3 separate regions of the Homo sapiens genome follow, and all the other regions are linked to region 2. Evidence: promoter capture Hi-C in 16 types of primary human blood cells and fetal thymus (Javierre and others, 2016). All regions are on one chromosome and are shown on one strand. The core of a region is centred on a gene start or on the middle of the fragment in contact, and the rest is flanking DNA. Distances in the headings are between cores, read along the strand shown. Region 1 has its middle 37 kb from the start of UCHL1. Region 2 holds the start of PHOX2B (paired like homeobox 2B). Region 3 overlaps UCHL1 (ubiquitin C-terminal hydrolase L1).

Region 1 (4,329 bases), core at 748-3,247, 460 kb after region 2:
AGAGCCAGCAGAGCCAGATAAGCAGCACCCTCTAGGTCACTACTTTCACTACGCTTCTTTCTGCCTCGATCTGTCATGCACTTGATCCTCTGGGAGGGCTATTCAAGGAGCCATGCCTGTGTCTGTTTCTCCCTATACTCTCAACATAAGAAGAGATGATATGGATGTTGGCAAGACAAAGAGAAAAAGCTTATAACAACCATAGGAGACAACTGAAAACGCTTGGATAGGCAGAGTAAAATAGAGGATTGCCTTGTACAGATATGAAGATTACTGAAATAAATGAATTCTGATTCATTCTAATTGACTGTCAGACTCGTGTATTTTCCTATCAAGCCCAAGATACTGGAAAAGAATTCATCTTCTTAAGGGTTTTCTGCCTCAAGTAGAACCATATTCTGGTCAGAAGCAATCATAGAGCTCCTTGGCTTGGAGGAAGGCTACAGCAGCTTCCTTTAATTAGCTTAGGATCCAGATAGATAGAGAATGGACACAGCCCACCAGAGACTTCCCCCAAGACCCAACCCTGGACACTCTGCCAACCAGGCCCCTTGGAGGAGATGTCAAAGCTCACCAGGGATCTCTGTTTCGCCCCACATGACAGCAAGCTGTCACCGAGGATTCTCTTTCTTTACTCTTTGTGCATCTCAATCCTTTTCTTCCTGCTTCCATGACTTGTTCCCAGCTACTTCACGGGCAGGTGTTAGGTTCTAACTGAGGTCCGAGGGGAGTCAGTGGGGTGGCAGGTAGCTGGAAAAACATTCGAGGAATTGTAGACAGTTTCAACATGGCTTTTACCCTCTCTCTGGCACAAGCGAGCCTAGGCATGAGCTGTGGGCACGAGCTGTATGTACATTCTCTCCCTGGGCATGAGCCATATGTACAGTGTCAGCAGGGTAATTATACCTTTTACAGGCAATAGTGACTCCAAGCCAAGCATGAGCTCACATGGGTGATCACCTAATGCACCTTACGTGGCGTGGTTACATAATGTGCCTGACATGGCATGGTTAAATACTGTGTGGAGTTGTGCACCTGCACTCCAAACCTGCTGAGTTATGCTGCACCAGAAGGCTTCCTCAGACTACTCCTGACTAAAGCACAGCCATCTCCCTTACAGCAGGCTGAGACACCCTTACCTTTCTAATTCTCAGCTTCTGGATATACTGCTGTGTAGAACTGCACATGCTCAAGGACTCAATAAGTAACCATGAAACATGAGCACAATTTGCTTTCCAAAAGAATGGCTGCAACAGTGATTCATTTCAGTTATTCCTCAAACTCAGGGATGGTAGCTTATAAAACAAAAAATAATAAACTTTGGATACTTGGGCCCCACCCAGAATTAGCATCTCTGGGAGTAAGGAATTTGATTTTTTCTTTAAGGAGGTTTTGTAGAATAGCCAACACTGAGGGCTAGACTAGATGGTGTTTCTCAAGTGTGCCTGGTCAGGAGAATTAGCTGGGTAGCATATTAAGTCCACCAAGTCCCAGCCTTCCTCTGGAGATCCAAGTTTAATAGGTCTGGATGGGCCAGGCTCAGTGGCTCACACCTGTAATCCTAGCACTTTGGGAGGCTGAGGCAGGAGAATCGCTTGAACCCAGAAGGTGGAGGTTGCAGTGAGCCAAGGTTGCACCACTGCACTCCAGCCTGGGTGATAGAGTGAGACTCTGTCTCAAAAAAAAAAAAAAAAAAGTCTAGATGGGCCTATCAATAGATTTGGAAGCTTAACAGGATCCCCTGGTGATTCTTACAATTGAGCAGGCTTGGGAAGCACTGGGTATATCTGGGTTTCCCAAACTTCTCTTGTATAAGAATTACTTGGTGTTGGCCGGGCACGGTGGCTCATGCTTGTAATCCCAGCACTCTGGGAGGCTGAGGCAGGTGGATCACGAGGTCAGAATTTTGAGACCATCCTGGCTAACACCGTGAAACCCCGTCTCTACTAAAAAAATTAGCCGGGTGTGGTGGCACGGGCCTGTAGTCTCAGCTACTCGGGAGGCTGAGGCAGGAGAATCGCTTGAACCTGGGAGGCAGAGGTTGCAGTGAACCGAGATCATGCCACTGTACTCCAGCCTGGGCAACAGAGACTCCATCTCAAAAAAAGAAAGAAGAATTACCTGGTGTTCTATTTGAAAGCACAGATTCCTTTGCCCCCATCCAGATAAACAGAATGAGACTTCCTGGCTTTGAGGTCTGGCAATCTATTTATTTAACAAAGACTTCCACTTGATTCTTATTATCTGAGAAATGGCAACAAAGCTTTGTTGATTGTCAACTTTGTCTTGCCCATAGCATCATCAGGGAACTTTTGTGTGTGTGGTAAAATACACAAACATAGCATTTACCATTAGTGACATATAATCTGTTCTAATACGTTCAGAATATACAGCCATCACCACTGTCTAGTTCCAGAACACTTTCATCTCTCATCTGGGAACTTCTAAAACATACAGATGCCCAGGCTGTACCCCAACTGAATAAATGAGAATCCCTGTGGTGGAACCCACACATTGGGACTCCTTAAGGCATTCCAGTTGATTACAATGTACAGTCAAGTTTGGGACCACTCAGGATTCCTGCCCTCCAGAAAGCCTTGTTAATGCATCCCATGGGGGACTCTCGTGCTGCTACTCTGCAGTCCATTAAGTGCAACCTCACATGGCTCTATGCCATTCTGGCATTCTGGTTTCTTTTCTTTTCTTTCCTCCCTCCTTCTCTCCCTCTTTTCTTTTCTCTTTTCTTTTCTTTTCTTTTCTTTTCTTTCTTTCTTTCTTTCTTTCTTTCTTTCTTTCTTTCTTTCTTTCTTTCTTTCTTTTCTTTCTCTTTCTCTCTCTCTTTCTTTCTTAGAAAAGACATCTATATGAGTGAATTAACCCTTTATCTTTCTTTTTTTAGAAAAGACATCTATAGGCCAGGCACAGTGGCTCATGCCTGTAATCCCAGCACTTTGGGAGGCCGAGGTGGGAGGATCATGAGGTCAGGAGATCGAGACCATCCTGGCTAACATGGTGAAACCCTGTCTCTACTAAAAATACAAAAACAAAATTAGCCGGGAGTTGTGGTGGGCACCTGTAGTCCTAGCTACTCAGGAGGCTAAGGAAGGAGAATGGCATGAACCCAGGAAGTGGAGCTTGCAGTGAGCCGAGATCGCACCACTGCACTTCAGCCTGGGTGACAGAGCAAGACTCCGTCTCAAAAAAAAAAAAAAAAAAAAAGAAAAGAAAAGAAAAGAAAAGACATCTATATGAGTGAATTAACCCTTTATAGATGAGTGAATTAACCCTATATATTTTAACCCTTTATCAGACATATGATTTGCAAATATTTTCTCTCATTGTATAGGTTACCTTTTCATTCTTTTTATGTATGACATATAAAGATGCTCAATATCACTAATCATTAGGAAAACGCAAATCAAAACCACAATGAGATAGCACCTCCATACCCACTAGGATGATTACTTTAACATTTTTCAAAAAAAAAAAAACAGAAGATAAGTGTTGGTGAGAATGTGGAGAAATTGGAATCCTTATGCATTGCCAGTGGAAATGTAAAATGGTGCAGTTGCTATGGGAAACATACTATATGACAGTTCCTCAAAAACTATTTTTCTAATTAAAAATAGAACTTCCAAATATCCAGGAATTCCACTTATGGGCATAAGGAATTTAAAAACAGGATCTCAAAGAGGTATTAATATTTGTATACCCATATTCATAGCAGCATTATTCACAAGCATCAAAAGTTGGTAATAACCCAAATGTCCATCAGCAGATGAATGGATAAACAAAATGTGGTATAGTCTGTGCATGCAATGGAATATTGTTTCAACTTTAAAAAGAAAGGAAATTCTGGGCCGGGCACGGTAGCTCACACCTGTAATCCCAGCACTTTGGGAGGCCGAGGCAGGCAAATCACGAGGTCAGGAGTTTGAGACCAGCCTGGCCAATATGGTGAAACCCATCTCTACTAAAAACACAAAAATTAGCCGGGCATGGTGGCGTGCGCCTATAGTCCCAGCTACTCGAGAGGCTGAGGCAGGAGAATCACTTGAGCCTGGGAGGTGGAGGTTGCAGCAAGTGGAGATCACGCCACTGCACTCCAGCCTGGGCAACAGAGCGAGACTCCATTTCAAAAAAATAAATAAATAAACATAAATATATAAATAAATAAATAAAAAGAAAGGAAATTCTGACACATGCTACAACATGGGTGAAGCCTTAGAACATTGTGCTAAGTTAAACAAGCCAGTCACAAAAGGATAAATACTGTATGATCCTACTTGTATGATGTACCTAGAGTGATCAAATTCATAGAGACAGAAG
Region 2 (4,497 bases), core at 1,588-4,087:
ACTCCCTTTCGCTCAGGAAGTGCCTCTGTGCACCACCTAAATTTCCAAGTTCCACATCTTCACCTAAGAGCAATCCTCAGAAACTGGCAACATGAACCCCTCTACTCCGAGCTCCCAGCACTTTTTAGGTCCTAGTCTCGCCTCCTCCCCAAAAGCTAAAGGGGCCTGGGAACTGTCAGCAAACTAGGACCCACGGCGAAATTGCCCTGCCCTGCACTCGACTAGGGCGTAGGGATCAGGCCCAGGGCGCACAGCGGTGGCGCGGCACCCGGCCGTAGCTTCCGGAGTAGAGCGCGCGCTCTGCACCACGCGGAGACACACCCCAGGTGCAGTAAGGCTCTAGTGCCAAGCGGGGTGTGAACCTGGTTACTGTCAAAAATAGGCCTTGGAGCCGAAATTCATCACCTCCTGACCACCCCTGGTCACTCTCTTCTGCAGGGAAACGCGCTTAAACCCTACAGCAGAGGAGCGGGCTGGCGGTGGACACCCCGGCCTGTGCTCCCTACATCCACATCTCCTGAGTGCAGGCCTCGGCGGCAGAGTTGCGTTCAGAAAACCAGCAAGCACATCCCCCAACCCGAAATCCGAGGGAACGAAGAAACTTGGACGATCTCAGCCTTGTGCTTGACAACCTATCCCCCACCTCCCTTAAGTGGTTGGGGAGGGGGATGAGCGTGGGGGAAATTCCATGTGTGGAGTCCAAAGGGATACAGCCACCTCCCGGCCCAAATGCAAATTCATATTCATGAGAGCGGGATAAATAAAGACAAATCTCCGCTGTAATAGCACTTGGATTCGCATCCGTCTTTGCTGGCCTTTAGGTTTAGGGGACTGAAGACAGATGTTTGCATCCCTTTTCTCCTCTTGTCTGGTGACCATAAAGAAAAACCATTTAGAGCGTTGCAATTTGTTTCCCGCCGCAGTAAAACCTTGTATACATTTATTTTCATTTCACCCCCGTGCACAAAAAAGTGCACACTGGTCACCAAGGGCCCTTCTTTATCAAATACGCATTGTACAACATACAACTGCAATAAAACTATCAGCCCTCCCCATAAAACTATCACCAGGATCCTCGGTAGGTCCGGCTCCCTGCACTCCCGACTTTAGCGCTTCCTCACGCCCCGAGGATTTGCAACCACCTGAAACGAGCCTGAAACTCACCCTGCAAAGAAGCACAAGGCTGGGGGACCGCTGTCCCCGTTTAATCCATTACTGCGTCCGCGGCAGTTTAGTGCGCAATAAAACACGGTGGCAGGGGAGAGCGGGAGCCCATCCACTCCCCGGCACTAGCATCGAATTAAACCACTTAGTTTGGCAAACACTGAACGCCTAAATGCCCCTATAAAGACTTTATGAGTTTGTTACTTTAATTACTGACTTGTTACAGAGCACATAAAGGGGGTAATGAATGCAATAAAACTAATTATCTACACATTTAATTCATATAAAATATCCAGGGTTTGTTTACACCACACGGCGATTCAGCTAAGCTTTCCCCCTCTTGTCCACCGAGAGGAAGGATTTAATGAAATAGTTTCCCTTATTCTGCTAGGGCCTAACAAACCAAATGAAAATTACCCTCCGCTTAAATCATGGGGCCACTGAAGTCCACAAATCACTGCTCGCTCCTTTGTCTGTGCCTCGCTGCCAGCACCCAAAAGCCTGAGGAATCGGACAAGAAAGGTGCCCGACCTGGAGCCCTTGCCTGGGCATTTACATGGCAAGAATTTCCCTCACTACAGTCCGCAAACCTAAAAGGCAAACAGACACAATCCCCGGGTCTGTGGAGGATTGTGGGCACCTGAAAAAAAAAAAGAGGCGAGAAAGAGGGAGAGCGCCCGAAAGAGATGAAAGAGGAGATACATTTGGGTACACTTCATGCTCGCTTGCCAGTTATGGTGTAATTAAAACGAACAACCTCACAGAAACTCAAACCAACCAAGGCTTGCGCTAATGCAAACAGACAGAACTGAGAGCAAAGAACACAACGGTCGAGAATCCAGATGTTTCACATTCGAAAGCTTTCCTCAGATTTTTTTATTATTATTTTTAAGTGGCTGTATACCCTGAGTCTCTTGAAAGCACATTTAGCTGCAAGAAGAAATGCAATTTATAAGATGCTTTCTCTCTGTCTCTCTTTTTTTTAACCCCCTCTACCAGGTGTATTTTTAAAGAAATCCGCTTATCGTTCACATAAACCCCCTTGGCCCACTTACTCTATGTTACAGGGCGCCTGAGTCTTGCCAATGTCCCAGTCCTTTATAACATTTCATGCACTTCGGGGGGTAGGCTTGTTGTTAAATTGAGCGTGTAACACTCTTACAAAACAGGTTTTCTATGACATCAAGGTTTCTTCTCCCTAACCGAGGGGGAAAAAAAGAAGAGGACGAAGAAGGGGGAAAACACACACACTATCTCAATTTATGCCTAAGGTATATGATCAGTTAAAAAGGCTTAAAAGCTCGGGGAAATTGGATCAGGGAGAATCGTCACCCAACTTTCATTATTTCCAAGTAGTGTGATTGAATTAAAGGGCAGGGAGCTGGTTAGAAGGGAGGATCAGGGGCTCGGTGCGTAATGGTGTGGTATTAAATTCTAATTAGAGATGCAGGAATCAATGATAGGGAGGTTGGACAGCTCAGTTCCCCAGTGCCAGCCCAATAGACGGATGAGTTATTGTCATGTAAAAAGCGCCAGCAATAAGACCAACCGCTTTGCTATTGTCCAAGTGGAAAGAGCCAAGTTTATTATGAGGACTATATGCTCTAGAGACCTCAGACAAGGCATCTCATAGGAGGCTTTTTCATAAAACTAGGCTCTGCTGGTAGTAAGGAGGCCAGTTTGGAGGCAGGCGTTGAGCTGTGCACATCTCCCCACTCCAGCCACCTTCTCCATATCCATCTTTTATTTCATTTTTCCACTTGGCTGAGCCATCCAGAACCTTTTCAATGTATAAAATGGAATATTCTTACCTCAATTCCTCTGCCTACGAGTCCTGTATGGCTGGGATGGACACCTCGAGCCTGGCTTCAGCCTATGCTGACTTCAGTTCCTGCAGCCAGGCCAGTGGCTTCCAGTATAACCCGATAAGGACCACTTTTGGGGCCACGTCCGGCTGCCCTTCCCTCACGCCGGGATCCTGCAGCCTGGGCACCCTCAGGGACCACCAGAGCAGTCCGTACGCCGCAGGTAAGGACCTTCAGCTTTCTCAGCGGAGGAAGCCGCCTTTCCGCCCGTATATAGGAAGCCTTGATTGCATTTGAAAATGGAAATGTGTTTAGTATTTACCAAACGAAATTTGCTTACACAAATGAAAGAATTTATCACGTTAGAAGCGATTGCAGGGAGGGGTAATTCACTTACAGGGTTACACTATCCTAGTCACACCCGAACCGCCAACAAAATTATCTTAAGCTGCCAAAATGATAGGCATAATTTATTTACTTTGCGATGAGACGTAAAGCTTAGAAAATAATTAAATAACAAAGAGTAAAGCTCATTACTGGCAGTGTCTCTTTTTTTAAGAACCGACAGCGGCTCACACCTCTTTGGCTGGTCATTTTTATGATTATTTCTTTAATTTATTATTATTTTTTTGCAGCTCTTTCCCCCAACTTTTGAGCCGGGTCAACTTTCTGAGAATTGAAAAGTTCCCAAAGTGGGACTGTTTGGTAACTTCTTTCCTGGCTCCCTGATATTCCGACTGATGTTTTTGGATTTTTTTCCTCTCTGGTTTTTTCCTGCTGAAAGCACTATCTCAAGTCCGTCACATCGCGCTGTTTCAATCCACCCAAAGGCGCTTGTGCCAGAAAGGACTCCGCCAAGCCCGAAGTTTGAGCCCAGGTTTCCGCAGATAACAAATTTCCTCGGTTTCTTCCCGCAGCTTCTCTCGGCAACTCTCTCGCGCGGGTGTAGGTAGCGGCTGCCGTATGACCTGACCTTGGAGTCCTCACATTCTAGCTCCACGGCCGGCGAGCTGCCGGCTGATTTGCTCACTTTCTGTCTCCTCTGTCATACTCTAGTTCCTTACAAACTCTTCACGGACCACGGCGGCCTCAACGAGAAGCGCAAGCAGCGGCGCATCCGCACCACTTTCACCAGTGCCCAGCTCAAAGAGCTGGAAAGGGTCTTCGCGGAGACTCACTACCCCGACATCTACACTCGGGAGGAGCTGGCCCTGAAGATCGACCTCACAGAGGCGCGAGTCCAGGTACGCGCGCCTGGAAACCGACCCCGCTCCGCCGCACTGGTCCGGGGAGGTGTGGGGTGAGGGGCGGCTGGTGAAATTCGAAGTCCTGGAGCCTCGAGTGAGAAGGACCTAGGGCCCCATGGCCGATCAGAAATACTGGATTTGGTGTGGCTGTGCGTTCGAGAGAGGCTTAGAGCGCACGCTCTTGGCATTTTATTTACAGTTGCGAAGTGTTTCCCACCCGAGCAGAGACATGGGGGGCCTTGGGACGTGGATGAGCGATGCAATTTCGGGGACAGGAAGTG
Region 3 (4,658 bases), core at 599-3,098, 480 kb after region 2:
TTATCTATAAAACAAGGGCACATTGATCTATAAAGTAAAGCTTAACAACAAATGCCAAAGACTTTTGCTTTTTTAAAAAAAAAAACTAATTTCTAGACAGTAAGGAATTGCTAAGAAAAACAAAACATGCTACACTGATTGGGGTATGTCAAAGCAACATAGGAGCCAACTGAAAGAGCTCCCAACAACTAAAGCAGAACAATGTGGGCAACAGGTAGTACTGGATTATAACATAAATCCACAGTATATGATATGAGTTCATACTGATAAAAATGGTTACATAGGAGAAAAAAGACAACTCTCCCAAAAGAATTCCAAATAATTCATATAGATACTTGGCCCTCAAGGAGATAGAACATACACCTCCACTCCTTAAGTGTGGGCTTTGCATGGTGACTTCCTAGGAGTACAGCATGGAAAAGGCAGTGGGGGTGAGTTTATGGTGAAGTCTTTCAAACACGACCTCAGCCAGGTAAGAGGTGAGAATCAGTGATAAATTATGCTTATGTACCCTTTGTAGCATATGATGAAAACAACGCTTTGCCTCTGTGGTCTTCCTCCCCAAAACCCATAACCCTAGTCTAACATTAGACAAATCCCAATAGAGGGCACCTTACAAAATACTTGATGGTACTCCTCCAATTTGTCAAGGTCATCCAAGGAGAAGAGAAGTCTGAGAAACTGACAAAGCCCAAAGGAGCCTGGTGAGACATGGCAACTAACAGTCATGTGGGATCCCGGATGGGATCCTAAAACAAAGGACATTAGGGAAAACAGCCAGGAAATCTAAACAAGCTATGGACTTAATAGCAGTGTATCGATATGTCAATAACTGTGATGGTTAATATTGAGCATCAACTTGGATTGAAGGTATTGTACTTTTCCTGGGTGTCTGTGAGGGTGTTGCTAAAGGAGATTAACACTTGAGTCAGTGGACTGGGAAAGGCAGACCCACCCTCAATCTGCGTGGGCACAATCTAATCAGCGGCCAGTGCAGCCAAAATGAAAGCAGGCAAAAGAACATGGGAAGACTAGACTGGCCCAGTCTCCCACCTCCACCTTTCTCCTGTGCTGGATGTGTCCTCCCCTGGAATATCAGACTCCCAAGTTTTTCAGCTTTGGGACTCTTGGACCTTTGACTATAGAGTGAAGGCTGCACTATTGGTTTTCCTACTTTTGAGGTTTTGAGACTCGGACTGGCTTCCTTGCTCCTCAGCTTGCAGAGGGCCTACCATGGGACTTTACCTTGTGATCGTGTGGGTCAACACTCCTTAATAAACTCCCCTTTATACATACATATATCCTATTAGTTCTGTCCTCTAGAAAACCCCGCTTAATACAATAGAGGAAACTGGGTGGTGGGTTTATGGGACTTCTACAATGTCCAGTATTTTCTTTTTGTCTTCAATATTTTTATAAGTCTAAAATTGTGCTACAAAATTTGCCTATTTAAAAATCTTTAAAAATTAGTTTCTACAGGTATACATAGGGAATACAAATGCAAAAAAAAATCCAAAGACACATCAAACCAATGCTTTTATGGTAATTCTTGGCAGCACTGTATGAGTTACTTATGTGGAAGACATTCATATATTACTACCAAAATAACCTGACATATTGAGGAGAGGGTAAAAGAAAATGAGAATCAGCTGTGGCTATCTTATCAGCAGAAAAGTTTTATTCCTTTTGAGGACAAACAATTAAACCACATCCAAGGTCTTAACTTACAGACAGAAACCAAAGTAGCCATTTAAAGCGTTAGATATCGGATACAAGACATACACTGGGGAGAATGCTTCACCATCTGAAGCTCACACCACAATGGCCCAGTGGACAGCTGTGCACTCTGCTTGTGCTTAAGTGCCTGGGTGTGGCTGAGGGGAAGGCGTGTCTGCAGAACAGAAGAACAGCTGTGTTTCACAAGTACTGAAGCATTTTAGACTGCATGGGGGGGTATATATTTTCATGTTGAAGGGAAGAGGGGAAATCAGCAAAGTCCCTCCCACAGAGCATTAGGCTGCCTTGCAGAGAGCCACGGCAGAGAAGCGGACTTCTCCTTGCTCACGCTCGGTGAATTCTCTGCAGACCTTGGCAGCGTCCTGGAAAGGAGAAATGTCATTAAAATCCAAACAGCAAGAGCTCAAAATGAAAGTCACATAGGGAAAGGCTCCAAGGTCTATTAATGCTCAAAGTTCACCCTCATCAACTTTAATTCCATCATTAATTTGAAAACCAGGGCTTAAAGCAAAAAATCAGGTGATGGGAAAGACAAGGTTACATCATGGATTTGACTTATCACTTCCACCAAATGGTTTTGTGCTTCTCTCACTTTGTACCTGGTTTTGGAAAAGTTAAAAAAAACAAAAACAAAAAAACCCAACAACAAAAACACAACTATGAACGTTATTTTCCTCAAATCTAAAGATTGGAAATTGATCTTTCTTCCATAAGGTGGCATAAGTGAAAAGTTGTAACTCAGAAATTCCTGGAATAAAGAAAATTGTCTTTCAAATAAACATTTTAAAAAACAGCCTTAACGTGGCCGGGCGCAGTGGCTCACGCCTGTAATCCCAGCACTTTGGGAGGCTGAGGCAGGCGGATCACGAGGCTGGGAGATAGAGACCATCCTGGCCAACATGGTGAAACCACGTCTCTACTAAAAATACAAAAAAAATTAGCCGGGCATGATGGCGGGCATCTGCAGTCACAGCTACTCTGAGAGGCTAAGGCAGGAGAATGGCGTGAACCCAGGAGGCGGAGCTTGCAGTGAGGCGAGATCGCGCCACTACACTCCAGCCTGGGCGACAGAGCGAGACTCCGTCTCAGAAAACAAACAAACAAACAAAAAAAAAAACAGCCTTAACGTTTACCTGATATTCTAGGTACAGACAAGCATGGAACCTTAGAGATTGATGGTGAAGTGACATGCGTTACTACTTCTAAGATCTAGATGACAAAGACTGGTAACAGGAAACTGATCCCAGTGTTATTTACCAACTTCTAGGATATAATTGTTTTGGGATCAAAAATATTACTCTGTTCAATCTGTAAAAAAGCCCAGTGGAAAGATAGCTCTGTAAACCATAGTATAAGACCCTGAAGGAGAAAAGGAATGCTCTATGATACAGAATGGTAATGAAACATCACTCCTAAAATTTAGAAATCACCAACTCAATGAGTTTGGGCCAGACACAGCTCAGGCCTGCAATCTCAGCACTTTGGGAAGCTGAGGCAGCGGATGACTTGAGCTCAGGAGTTCAAGACCAGCCTGGGCAAAATCTCTACTAAAAATTTAAAAATTAGCTGGGCATGGTGGTGTGCGCTTCTAGTCCTGGCTACTCAGAAGACTTAGGTGGGAGGATTGCTTGAGCAAGGACTTCAAGGCTACAGTAAGCCATGATTGCACCACTGCACTCCAGCCTGAATGACACAGCGAGACCCTTTCTCAAAAAAAGCAACCAAAGAGTATCTGGATTGACATCAACATTTTATCCTCTACCAAGTTTTTTAATATATCAGTATTCCAGACCTGTCTTCCCTGAATTGACCTTACTATAGGACATACAATATTGATTTCACTATTAAAGATGTACCTTTAAAGAGAATAACCATCTTCTATAGAGCTAACGTGCAGGGACCTAATTCATTCAAGCTTAAGATATTTGGGTTAAGTGCATGTATATTCTAACCAGTTTAATAATTTAGTGTGACATTTAGACAACCTAAAACATCCTTAACCATATAGAACCAGCCTTACTTAGGGTAAGAATTTTAACTAAAATGCTGGTTTAATTTAGAAACTCTTTTAATTTTAAATAAGGTTCTAATTAGAAAAGTTAAAAAAAAAAAAAAAAAAAAAGTTTTAGCCAGGTACTGTGGCTCACGCCTATAATCCCAGCACTCTGGGAAGCTGAGGCAGGAAGATCACTTGAGCCCAAGAGTTAAAGACCAGCCTGGGCAACATAGTGAGTCCCTCCCCGCCCCATCTCTATACAAAAATTTTACCTTCCCCACACCTTATAAATTCTACTCATGTGACACTTGTATCCTATGTGGGACACATTTTTATGGTATTAGTGCAGTGTTAGATGAGTTAGCATGTACCTTAAAAGCTTTACTAGGAAGGACCAGGGTCTCTTTCCTCCAAATGGATCAAAGACCAGAAATTCTGCCTGTTTTCTTATTCTCACCAAGTAAATTCTGACTCTCATGAAACCCTTCCATCCCATCCTGGCTCTCCAGGTCTATTCTTCATTCCATATTACTATTCCCACATACCTCTTGAATACCAAGAATTAGCTTTAACTGATCTCAGGTGTGTCTGACAGATGAGAGAAATCAACCTTCCCTATTAAGAGTGGCATAATGTGGTCCACTAGCATCTTAGGGCTATCAGGTCTGTGAAGTTCCAAAGAGAGGTCTTTTCTAAAGAAAGGTCATATTGGTATTGTACAATGGCTAAGAACACAGACTCTAGATGCGGACTAACTTTTCTTTTTTTTCTTCTGAGACAGAGTCTTGCTCTGTTGCCCAGACTGGAGTACAGTGGTGCAATCTCGGCTCACTGCAACCTCCACCTCCCAGGTAACAAGTGATTCTTGTGCCTCAGCCTCCCAAGCAGCTGGGACTACAGGAATGCACCACCAGGTCTGGCTAAT

The links. The method cuts DNA at HindIII sites, captures the fragments that hold promoters and counts their contacts. A CHiCAGO score of 5 or more calls a contact.
Region 1: a contact is called between a fragment that was not itself captured here and the fragment with the promoter of PHOX2B in region 2, in 2 of 17 cell types (monocytes and M2 macrophages). The highest score is 5.9, in monocytes.
Region 3: a fragment that was not itself captured here is called in contact with the fragment with the promoter of PHOX2B in region 2 in 2 of 17 cell types (M2 macrophages and endothelial precursors); the score reaches 6.7 in M2 macrophages.

What each region holds. Positions count from the first base shown.
Region 1 is chr4:41,291,350-41,295,678 of GRCh38, reverse strand. No RefSeq gene overlaps it. Among named protein-coding and RNA genes, the nearest start is that of UCHL1, 37 kb to the right of the region's middle. The HindIII fragment of the contact is 536 bases long and covers 1,730-2,265 here.
Region 2 is chr4:41,747,065-41,751,561 of GRCh38, reverse strand. It overlaps PHOX2B (paired like homeobox 2B), which reads left to right and starts at 2,837. Exons shown (of 3, transcript NM_003924.4): 1 at 2,837-3,192; 2 at 4,026-4,213. The coding sequence starts at 2,952. It overlaps PHOX2B-AS1 (PHOX2B antisense RNA 1), which reads right to left and starts at 3,213. Exons shown (of 4, transcript NR_187403.1): 1 at 2,976-3,213. The HindIII fragment of the contact is 1,442 bases long and covers 2,027-3,468 here.
Region 3 is chr4:41,265,428-41,270,085 of GRCh38, reverse strand. UCHL1 (ubiquitin C-terminal hydrolase L1) reads right to left here. Exons shown (of 9, transcript NM_004181.5): 9 at 1,631-2,099. The coding sequence ends at 2,013. Among named protein-coding and RNA genes, the nearest start is that of UCHL1, 11 kb to the right of the region's middle. The HindIII fragment of the contact is 3,612 bases long and covers 43-3,654 here.